Linked DNA regions of Homo sapiens: regions 1, 2 and 3 are each linked to region 4. The links are contacts of gene promoters, found by promoter capture Hi-C in human tissues and cell types (Jung and others, 2019). All regions are on one chromosome and are shown on one strand. The core of a region is centred on a gene start or on the middle of the fragment in contact, and the rest is flanking DNA. Distances in the headings are between cores, read along the strand shown.

Region 1 (2,872 bases), core at 340-2,839, 1.2 Mb before region 4:
CTCCTACACAACTAAGGATTTCTTGGGAGTTGGACCAAGACTGTTTGGCTCCAGAGACCATGTACTCCTAATTATTCCTCTAAATTCCCTGCCTTTTAAGGAAATACACAATATACCCCCATGTCATACAGCTTATGTGGGGCATTCTTTGTATAGAGCTTTACTAGATATAATGGAGAAGCTGAGTTAGGGTTCTTAGCAAGGAGGGTTTCTTCCCCTTCTTCCCTCCTCGGTAATTTCCCAGTGTTACCCCATTCTGACTTGAGAATCACTTTTGCTAGACCAGATACCCCCAGCGTATCAGCACAGAGGAACCTACAAGAACTGATTGCTTCTCTGCCCCCTTTCTAACTTGCAAACCTGGGATGTCTATCTAGTCCTGACACACCTGGCTGCCTGTTCAGTGGATTCATCTGACCTTGACTTTGGGGTCCACCGATGAAGCCCACTCTGTTTAAGAATGTTATGAGTGTGTTGAAATCCTTGTTCGATGGGACCTCTAGGGAGAACTTCGGTGTGTATCAGCCTGCTGAAACATTCCAGCACATCAGCAACAGGTTGAAAGCTGGTGTAGAAAGAATGTAAAAGATGGCTTTCTTAGCAGGCTATTAATAAAACACATCTTATGATTATTCCGTTAAAGGGCAGTTTACAATTTCTAATTTTAGCTATGAAATTTTATTTTCATAGATATACTTTTTATCTCCAAAAGTATATCTTAGCCAAGAAAAAATGTAGAAGATAAACAGCTTATAATTTGACTTCTAGAAATTGATCTGTACACTCAAGGTAAATGGATTGCAAGTATTGATTAATACTTTGGAATGAATACCATTTCATAATTTTTAATTAACCACTAGGTAATATTTAATGGAAACTGCATAGTGCCATAGATATGAATTTGAAAAATGAGGAGGTAAAAGGGTCCGTCCCTTAGTCCCATTGTGGTAAAAGTAATTGCCGAGAGTGACCGGTTTGTAACCGTGTTTTCTTCTCTGGTAATTCTAGGTTATTAATGTCCCAAAGCACAAAGTGATACTGCTGTATTAATTCTCTTGGCCTCGAAATGATCTACAGCACAATTTAAGAACCATGCATCTTGTCATCACTTAAAATTGTTTTTAACCCAATGAAAGATAGAAAAAAAGGCAGTGAATCTTGTGGAACTAGAGAAGAAATTCACCCATATATGTGATCTTTTGAAAATACTAGCAATATTAAGTAATACTAGTTTTGCTGTAGACACAAGGCACTGAAGTTAAGAGGGAAAAAATGTGTACTTGGTTGTAGGGCATTCAACACTGTAGGTATTACATCAGCAAGTAGCATTTGGGTAGAAATGGAAACAATGAAGGTACAGTCTTCACATAGTGAACTATTAGAAGTACTGTGTCTGTCGCAGGAGGAACCCAGAATTTAAATGAACCATTTATGACTCAGCTGCCCTAGGGCAAGCACAAGATTCATTAATAATGCAGTGTTTATTTGAAATATTTTATTATAACGCACATTTATTACAAAAAAATCTAAACAGCAGAAAAAAGCCAGCATTGCACAGGTTCGGCATTCTGGACAAGTTATTTTCAAAATGGGATTCTTGGCAAATTATATCATTTCTTTCAATACTTCACCTGTGACACTATAAAGAATACATATTTATTTAAGTAGTGGCATTATACACTGCTGCTTGTGTTGTACATAATTTATAGAAAATGATCTACCAACATGGATAGGTAATGTTCCCCGTGAAAGTAAACGGTTAGAATTAGAAAGTGATGAAGAGCTCTGAGAGTTGCCTAATATGAGGTGGAGTAAATTAGACTCCTTAACAAGTGAGTTCATGTTTTCCAAAAATTATGGTCAACTTACCTCCTATTATAAATATGAGAGCAATTATTGCTAAAGTTTGTCATGAATAAATTGACCCATATATTAAATACACATAAAGTAATATGAGAACGCTGTTATATTTACTCCTACAGGAGTAAATATCTGTACCAGCTGTATTTACTGTCGCAGAGTACTGCAGAAAGTTTCAGATCATCTGGATCTCTCTGCAGTAAATGGGCAGAGTGTGATCTTGAGAGCAAACATACCTAAATAACTCCTGGCTTAGCCTCTTAATACTCGTATGATTTAGGGCAAGTTTGTTCACCTGTCTGAGTTTCTGTTTTTTCACTTGAACAATAATACCTGCCTCACAGAGTCAGTAGCAGAATGAAATAAGAGAAACCATGTAAAGCACCTTAGCACTTGGTGCTCGACGTACATTATTTCATTTCCTGCTGTGGCTCTTTATGTCCAAGCAGCGTACAATAATTATTGCATAGCAGGTTAGTACCCAGTTAATTGCCTACTTTTCCCATCCAGCTGGTTATTCCTAGGAAGCAAACTTTACTTTTTTTTTTTTATCTTTGCATTTCCTGCCATGAGCAAAGGGCTTGGCACCTGGTAGCTCTGGTTCATACATTAACATGATTCCTTCTGATGCGCTCCAGTGTCTCAGACAGGGACAGTCATCAGCCTGGCCCAGGGACGCATTTCTTACTTGTCTCTGGCTCATGGGATAGATTGTATCTCAAGACTGACTAGGAATAGGATTATTCCCTGCTTTTGTTTTTCCTGATAAAAAGATAACATCTCTTGAAATTTAGACTGCAAAATTCCAAAATATATACTTTGGATAGCACCTTAAAATCTTTGCCCCTCTACAGAGGTCAATAACCACGTTTGCACCTGCAGAAGAATATACTGCAAATATGTACTATCATGATAAAAACGCTGTGATAGTCTGTCCAGATGACTCTGTAATGTAGTAAAACTGCCACAAGGCTCCAGTGTCCCATCTTGTGCAGATCTTTGCCCCTCTTTG
Region 2 (2,859 bases), core at 117-2,616, 1.7 Mb before region 4:
CAGTGGTGCAGCGGGATTGGGGGAGGGGGATGGGGGAAGACTTCACCTGCCTGATATTTGTGTGTCTGTAGACCATTAGTGGATAAGTAAAAGATAATGACGTATAACCAAAAACATTTTAATGAGAGTAAAACAATGCATGAGAAATCAGAGCAGTAGGTCTGCCCAGTTTGCTAAAACAGCCCCTTCGTAAAAAATATATCATGTTACTTGATTTACCCGAACCCAAGTGCCTAGGCATAACTTATTTCAGCAGTGCCTGCCGTTTAATAGAATACAAGATAAATTTTTGCATTTCTTCAAACTGTTGTATTTCCTACTTTTAGCCTGATGGTTGGGTTAGATCTAGTTTTTAAAGTGGGGAGAAGAGTATGGCCGGGAGTTACAGCAGGTGCTTTAAGGAGATGGCAAACATTTCAGGATCAGTGTGGTATTAGAAATAGCTCTGCAGTAGGAAAGCTGCAGAAGTCTTGCAATCTTGCTGTAATCAGAAGGCAGTGCGAGTGCTGAGATCATTTTATTACAGAAAGAATGAGATGTGGGAAGGAAGAGAAAATACATATCTATGTTCTTAATCTTAGTATATTGACTTATATTTTGTTTCTCTATTTTTCTCATAAGAATCTTTTTTTTTTCCTAAAAGACATTGTTGCAGAATACTTTATCTCAAAACCATCACTGCATCATTATAAATGTATTGTTTAGGAGGATTTCAAGGTCTTCCAGATATGAATGAAAAATCATTTATTAGCAGATAAAGTTACTAATTGAATGAGAGGTAACCACGGTCGCAATTGCACATTGTTTTAACAGTTGTCCCGAGAAGACACTTCCAGACTGATAGGCCTCAAAGAAAAATATGTGTTGTATTCTACAAATATTAATAATCTAGACACAAGTGTTAGAGATGAAACTTAGGGAAAAACAATACAATTCATGGCTTCAGTGTTTTTAATATCTAATGGGGGAAATAGTACTCATAGGATTTATATAGTATTTTTTTTTATTTTGGCTATACAATTTGCACACTGTGAGTCATGCAAGCTCAATACCGTGTGTTCAGAATGAGAAACTTGTCTTGTTTCATTTTTGTATGTTCCCAGTGCAAGGTAAGTTTCTTATACATTTAAGTGCACATAAAATATTTATTGAGCTGAAATAAAAACTATATTTTGCTACTCAAAAGTAACCAAATGATCATCATCACAAAGAAATGCATAAAAAGCAGGCTGATGAGAGGATAGTGAAACAGCCATTCTTACTGTCATATATCTTTTTTTCTTTCTTTTAAAAACTGTAGAGTAAGTAGAATTGAGGTAGCTGGTTCTTTGTGTTAGTTATGAGGCTTCTACTTGTGAGTATAATAAAGGTGATCCTAATAGTTAGTGGAACTATGGTAATTTGTTGGATCTCATAGAGTCTATGGGTAGCAGCTTCAGGCCTAGTTGGATCTAGCTGTTGAAACAATACTGTCAGGGATTCCCGTACAGTTCTCGAATCTGCTTTCCTCTCCTTTGGCTTTTTTTCTGACACTGTCTTTTCTCTTACTGACAAGTTGAACTTCAGAAACTTCAGGCTTACATCCTAAGTACATATCTAATGATAAGGAAATCTGGCAAAAAGGAGTACATATTTCCATAGTTTCACCCACAACATCTGGGCTGACACTTAGAGATTCTGATTGACCTCTCTTGTATCATAAGCATTTTCTGAGTCAGTTTCTGGAGCTGGAAGAAGTTGGCCACCCTGATTGACCAGACCTGGGTCACATTTCAGAATGAGGAATGCTCAACTCCCAAAGGAAAGGTAAAATGCTTCTAAGAGTTGTTGGAGAAATGGTTATTGGGCAGACAAAAAGAGTCTTATGTAGGGTAAGAACTTAAGTGTTCATTAAGCTGAAGTATAAGATCACTTAAGTATCTTGGCAGACAGAACACCAAGAAGACATGTTAGCCTACAAATAGACACTTTGGAAAATTTAGTCACAAATCGTTATGGTGTTCATTTTGGGATAAGGAGTATTTTCTAATATACGAGGAAAATTTTTAATATAAAGATATGGGAAGTAAAGTTTTATTCCTGTGTGAGTCACTACTTCCTTCAGAGTTTTTCTTTTTTACCCAAATGGTATTTTATCAATGAGGCCTTTCCTAACTACTCTCTGTAAAATAAACCATGCCTTACAAGCCCTTCATGACAGCCCCAGCACTTTCTATGCCCTTTATCTTGCTTTATTATTTTTACATATTTTATTACCATTAGGCATCTCATGTATTGACTTATACATCCTATACATTTATTGATTATCTGTCTTTCCTTATTAAAATATAAGTTCCATGAAAAATTTATTTACTTCTCACTGTTCATCAAGGTGACCAGTGTTTATTCGTTGAATAATAAATATTTGGGGAGTGGATATGTGAATGAATGAATGAATGAATGAGATGTTTTAAGTGGTCAAATTAGATTTTCAAAAGCCTAAGGAAATTCAGTTCTGTGTGAATAGATATAATTATTTCATTGATTATGAGTTTTTAAAATAATAACACATAGAATGAAATTTAAATACATATACTTCTTAAATGTAAGGGAAAATAATACAGAACACCTGAATTGGCTTTAATTTATCCAATTGTGTTTATTGCTGTAAACCTAAGTTACTAGGTTTTGGTCAGGCTGGAGATTATACTGATATTACTTGCGCTATAAATTATGTTGCTATTTATATACTGATATTACACTATAAATTATGTTGTTGCCTCTCTCAGTACTATCAAATGCAATAAATAGTAAGTCTATTTAGAGTGAATGGTTCCATAATAGTGGGGTTGTAGTAGACATAAATAATTTTCATGTGTT
Region 3 (2,740 bases), core at 124-2,623, 1.3 Mb before region 4:
TAATATCCCATAGTATTTCTCTAAGCAGCTTCATAGTCACAGTTTCAGTTAAGGCTCTAGGGCTTTCATTCCTGAACTACGTGTACTACAGATCCCAGTTAAAATCTCTATCCTTCCCACAACAGTGGTTGACCACCTTCCTCAACATTGGATTTGGGGTGATAATGACAACATTCTGAACAAAGCTCATTTTTTCCCCTAACCCCCAGCTAAATAGAAGAAATGTTAATGTTACTCCTCTTTAGATTTTTTTAATTAAGAATATTTTTAAAGGATTTTTTTATGATTTAATGGGACACAATGAAAAGATATTTTGACAAAGGTAAACATCTGAAACTGAGGCAAAGAATTTTAGATGTTGCCTGTGTAACCATTATTCCATGATCAAAAGCCCAATGTTTAACATATCCTGATTTCATCATTAAACAAGCATAAGAAAAAAAAAAAAGAAAACCATAAAAGTGAAATAGATTACATCTTGTAATAATACAGCTATGAAATTCTGACCAGAATGAAAATATGAGTATGAAGAGAGTAATCATTTGCTTATTAATTCAAGGAACAATTTGCCATTTTTCAAGTATTATGAAAATAAGAGACTGTTGGACTCTTTTTAAACACGCAGGTTTTTCAAATGTATGTACAGTAATATTATAGCTCTGGTGAAAATTTTGATGAAAACAAAATTTTCTGTCTTCTTTTACTTACCTTGCCCTTTTCAAAAAATAGTGCTTAATGTTAACCAATGGACAGTCTAACTACCTGAAGCTTTTCATTCAGCTTTATTTTCTCAGCAACTATGGTTGAAACTGACAAGTTAGGTGAAAGGTTGTGTAAGTATCCAGGCAGGGGCAAAAATATCGAGTTATCCCCAAATACTAACAAGCACATAGGTAGAATATTTCTACCAAGTTAAAGAGAATAAAGGAACCACATTGAGCAGAGCTACCTTATTCAAGGACCTCATTATCTCAAGGCACCCCAATTGAATAAGTGTACCATTATTCCCTTCGTTCTGTGCAAACAGCAGACGTAGAGCACAAAGAGAGACGATTTCAGTGAATCACACTGTAATTATAAATGCCACATTAAAAAACGGAACAAAAGCAACAGCAGGACACTGTAACGTCGATGGTTAAGGAGGGCAAACAGAGAAACATTCTCAAAGGCCACAATAAATTACATGATCCAGTTCTTTGTTACAGGCAAATTATTGGACAATAAGAGAGACACTGAACACAACTTATCAGTGGTAAAGTAACTTGCACACATTCTCCTACCACTGAAATATTCCTGTTACCTACACAACTGCATTTGTATATACAAGCAAGAATTTTGATGCACTAAGTAATTAATATAGCTCTCTAGTATTTTTTTTACCTCTGTGCTTATTCTATCTGGGCAAGGTGTGGTAATAGCACCTTAAAAAATAAGATCAGATTTAGGAGTGAAGAACACTGCATTGGAAAAGGTAATTGCTAATTTTATTGTATTTTAATTATTTGACCATTTGTGCACAAAATTAAATAATACTTGCTTCATCTCTATATTTTACTCATCTATGACCTTCTTTTATTATTTATTCCTTTTTTACTTATTTATTACACAAATTTATTAACACTTGTGAATATATCTTACAAGCCCCAGACCTAGACAATTCGCAATAACTTACATTTACCGGTGAGTTCCTTCCCTGTATCCCAGACCAGAGAAACCCCTCCTCTGAATCGTGACTGTATCGCCCTCTTTCTTCTAACCCACATCCGTGTGTATGATTAACAATCAGATATTTTTAGTTTTGGTTATTTTCAGACTTATACAGCTAATGCTGCATGTAATCTCCTGTGATTTTCTTTTGTCACCAAATACTATATTGCTAAGATTAAGCTACATTGTTCCTTATTGTTGTGATTCAATCATTTTCACTGCTGTGTAATATACCATTGTGTGAATTCATCCATTCTTCTGGGGACACTTGGGTTGTTTCCAGGTTTTTGCTATTGCACAGAATGCTGTTTTGAACATTCTGATTGACACAGACCTACCTCTAAAATCTGAGGGCTCCAGAGCAAGAGGATAAATGGAGGCTCGCACATGGTTATCTCATACTAAGTGTTGTAAATCCTGCTGCAACCACTGCCCCAGTCCTCCTTATACCCAGAGACCCACAGCCTGTTCCTGGCCCTGGCACTTTTGAGAGAAGACTGGACCCTCCTGAACCCAAGTTCAGACTAAGTCAAGTTTTCCCGGAAGCCAAGGCAGGCAAACACTTTCCCTAGCTCCTTGCATTTCTGACTTGAAATTTTCACATAGTCCTAAGTACCTCTCAAAACTGCCTAAGGGAGGCAGTATGCATTTCCTGGGGACTCTGATTGCCTGGCCCTTGATGCTGGGGCTTCTGGGTGGGAGCCATTCTTTCTTTGATATCCCAGGGCCGTGGCTGCTCCCTGCTGCCGTAGACACACACCCACTCTCTCACATTCAGACAGGCATCCTTCGACTTGTGATGGTACCTGGTGAGTTCCTTGCCTGTCATTCTCATTAGCACCATTTTCCAATTTTCAAGAAAATGTCTTATAGTACCAAAAAGAAAAAAAAAAAACAAAGCTTGACTTAGTCTCAATTTGGGTTCAGGTGGGTCTGCTCTCCTCCCAGAAGTGCTAGAGTCTGGTCTAGCTTCTGCTTATTCTGCCCACTCAGGTCACAGAAGCGTGGTGGTCTAGGGGATAGGATGGCCCTT
Region 4 (2,853 bases), core at 213-2,712:
AAAAAGAAATATTTATTGATCATCTATAGATTCCAGACATTGTTAAAGTTTATACACATCATGTCACTCAAGCCTTACTCCTAGCTAAGGTAGACAGTGCCATCCCATCTTACACAGACTCAGAGAACTTAGGTAACTTAACCTAAACCACACAGGATTATCATCCATGCCAGACGGATTCAAAGAAAACATCTGAAGCCTTCCCAACTCTGATATTAACCAGATAATTTTTCCCTTCCCTTTCTCCTCAATAATCCAGATGGGACAGAAGTTATCAACTCCGAGTAATGAATTACATGAGAAGAAACTATGAAAAACGTCAAGTGCTACTCCTAAAGCAAGGTTTTTGGAACGTAGTTTACCAGGGGCAAGCAGAGACTGTCTACGGCAGGGAGAGCCCACGAAGGGGGTCCTAGGACTTCAGGGGAGTGGTCGCTTTCAAAAGGAATGAAACAAGGGCAAGGAAGGAAGACAACACAAAAACGGGGTGGGTACCACGGAGAAATCTTGAGAAAGGCGAGGAATGTGGTCTAAAGGAAGGCAAGCATCTCCCAAAACTTCTGCTTCAGGCTCCACACTTTATTTAGGCATCTGCTACAGTGCAGGGCGGCAGTGCCTAAGACAAGGATGCAGTGGAGAGTGGGTGCTGGGAACCACGGTCACCCACTGATTACGCTGCCCCACATCTGAGAGGCCTGGCAACCCCCCTAACAGGAAAAGACAGGTGCTGAATCAGCCTGGTTTCCCACCTGGCTTTAGGGCCAGCATCCATCATCGCTGTGGGGTGCTGGAGAAGTACCTACTAAATAGGAGGGAGGGGGAGCCATGGGGGGCGAGGGAAGAGCAGGAGAGGGAAGGGTCCTGTTAATCCCCTGGGCGCCTTCTCCTGGTGTGGCTGAACGCCCACTAGAGCCCTGTGAGGACTGAGGCCCAGCTGTAGAAACAGAGAGAACTGGAGCTCGAATACAACGATTCAGGAAGACACATCCGGTCACCGTCCCAGGCACACCCCACGCCGCTCGCAACCCCGTCAGCTCTGATCCAGGGCCTACACCCGGCATTCCCAACCCACACACGGGCGCAGGAAGGGATGTGGTGTTCAGACGCCCAGCACCACCTCCCGGGGCACTCCAAGGGGCCCGGCCTCGCACAGGCCGCGGCGCCCGCCGAGAAATCGACCCTGGAGTGACTGCGGGGACCCCGAGCGCCCCCACCCCGCCCGCATTCTCCGATCTAAAGGCTGAGCGCGGCCGAGGCGCCCCCAGCGTCCGCGGCCCCAGGCCCCCGCCCGGCAGCCAGCGCCCCGCGCCACGCGCTCGGGACGGTGCCACGCGGCGGTGGCTAGGGGCGCGCGGGCCGCGTACCCGCACGGCTGGCCCCCGCCCACCATCCGGTGCCGGCTCCGCGCGCAGGCCGGTGCTCGTCCCCGCCGCCGCCGTGCTCAGGGAAGGAAGTCGGGGGAGGAGGCGGGGCCGCCGCGGGGCCGGAAGGGGGCAGCGGCCCGGGCGCCGCGCGTTCGCAGGACGGCGGCTGGCCCCGGGGGCCCGAAGCCCTGAGGGGAGGGAGGGAGGGACGGCGGGGGCGGGTCGCACGCCGCAAAGGCGCTGCTCCGCGTCGCCGTACGCCTCCCGGTCCCCGTGACGCAGCCCGCGGTCCGGCCGGCGGTGTTCAGAGCCCGAGCACAAACTACTTCCCGGGTGCCAGACCGCCCCGAGGTCGCCCCGCTGCCCGGGTCACGCGTGGCGCTGGGTGGCCGCGAGTTGGGCGCTCCCGGGCCTGACTGCACGACCGTCGGGGGCTGCTTGGTTTGGTGGTGGTGGCGGTGGTGAGGTTTTCCCCACCATCCGTGTTCCATCAACTGCTTAGAGACACGGCTATGGAGATTGTGATTAAAAGACGACCCCAAGAATCTAGTGCCGTGAAACTGGCGGGGCGGGAGGTGGGGAGACCTGGTTTGGGTCTCTGGAGTGAGCCCGCTGTGTCGCAGCGTCCCCGTGGGGACCCTTGGCCGGTGGCTGGGTCACAGTTTCACACACTGGATGGGGCAGGGAACTGGGTCCGGCGGGGGCGCTGTGCCTCGAGGCTCAGTGCCTCGAAGCTAGATTTGCATTTGGCTGCGCCTGACAGGCTTTCAGTTTCTGCTCAAATTGTGCGGAAGGGCCTGAGGTGTTTGCTAAAGCCTGCCGCGCCCTGCTCGACCCGTATCACCGCACAGGCACCCCACCTGCATGTTACCTCCTGGTAATGCTCGCCCACTTATATAGTGCACATTTTGTTGCAGTTGTTTCAAAGATGAGAAAAACAGGGCAATAGGAAAGACCATCAGTGACATTTCTGGAGTCGTATGCCCCAAGCAACTTAATCTGGTTTTCATGAACTTCGTTACCCTGTGCAGACGTCTAGCCCCTTACAGTGGTTCTAGCACAGAGAATGACAGAAGAACCCCTTTCTGTTTCATTCATGGGACTTGAGGGGACTGTCAGCACTCCATAAATAACAGCTACTGTAATAATCGCCAGTTCTGATCTGCACATCCCAGATTTGAACTGCTATTCCAAACAAAAGCTTGTTAACTATATTAATTTAGCCTAACGGAGGAAGAATGATGAGAGTAAACAGTTGGTTCTATCTAATTTCTCACTACAGCAGACACATCATTCTTCATCTCATGGTCCAGCTTGTAGATTCAATAATTAAATTATGTACTGCTCTTGGTGGATGCCGGGAAAGCAAAAGGGAGAAATACTTCATCGTTAACTATAGATTTTTTTTTTTTTTTTTTTGCCTTGATAAGACTCAGGCTTGAAAGAGCCACATAGATTAAGATGATGATTTTTAATTTCAAGTTGACTT

Evidence for each region. Contacts are between HindIII fragments. The study calls those that stand out against the background at their distance.
Region 1: a contact is called between a fragment that was not itself captured here and the fragment with the promoter of DCTD in region 4, in 1 of the 25 tissues and cell types used here (dorsolateral prefrontal cortex).
Region 2: a contact is called between a fragment that was not itself captured here and the fragment with the promoter of DCTD in region 4, in 1 of the 25 tissues and cell types used here (H1 embryonic stem cells).
Region 3: a contact is called between a fragment that was not itself captured here and the fragment with the promoter of DCTD in region 4, in 1 of the 25 tissues and cell types used here (dorsolateral prefrontal cortex).

Annotation. Positions count from the first base shown.
Region 1 is chr4:181,669,348-181,672,219 of GRCh38, forward strand. It overlaps a transcript of TENM3 not described here. Among named protein-coding and RNA genes, the nearest start is that of TENM3-AS2, 160 kb to the right of the region's middle. The HindIII fragment of the contact is 6,092 bases long and covers 1-2,872 here.
Region 2 is chr4:181,265,167-181,268,025 of GRCh38, forward strand. No RefSeq gene overlaps it. Among named protein-coding and RNA genes, the nearest start is that of LINC02500, 1.6 kb to the left of the region's middle. The HindIII fragment of the contact is 6,307 bases long and covers 1-2,859 here.
Region 3 is chr4:181,598,253-181,600,992 of GRCh38, forward strand. It overlaps a transcript of TENM3 not described here. Among named protein-coding and RNA genes, the nearest start is that of TENM3-AS2, 230 kb to the right of the region's middle. The HindIII fragment of the contact is 3,906 bases long and covers 1-2,740 here.
Region 4 is chr4:182,915,924-182,918,776 of GRCh38, forward strand. DCTD (dCMP deaminase) reads right to left here and starts at 1,463. Exons shown (of 6, transcript NM_001921.3): 1 at 1,388-1,463. RefSeq lists a silencer at 1,095-1,804. The HindIII fragment of the contact is 4,495 bases long and covers 1-2,808 here.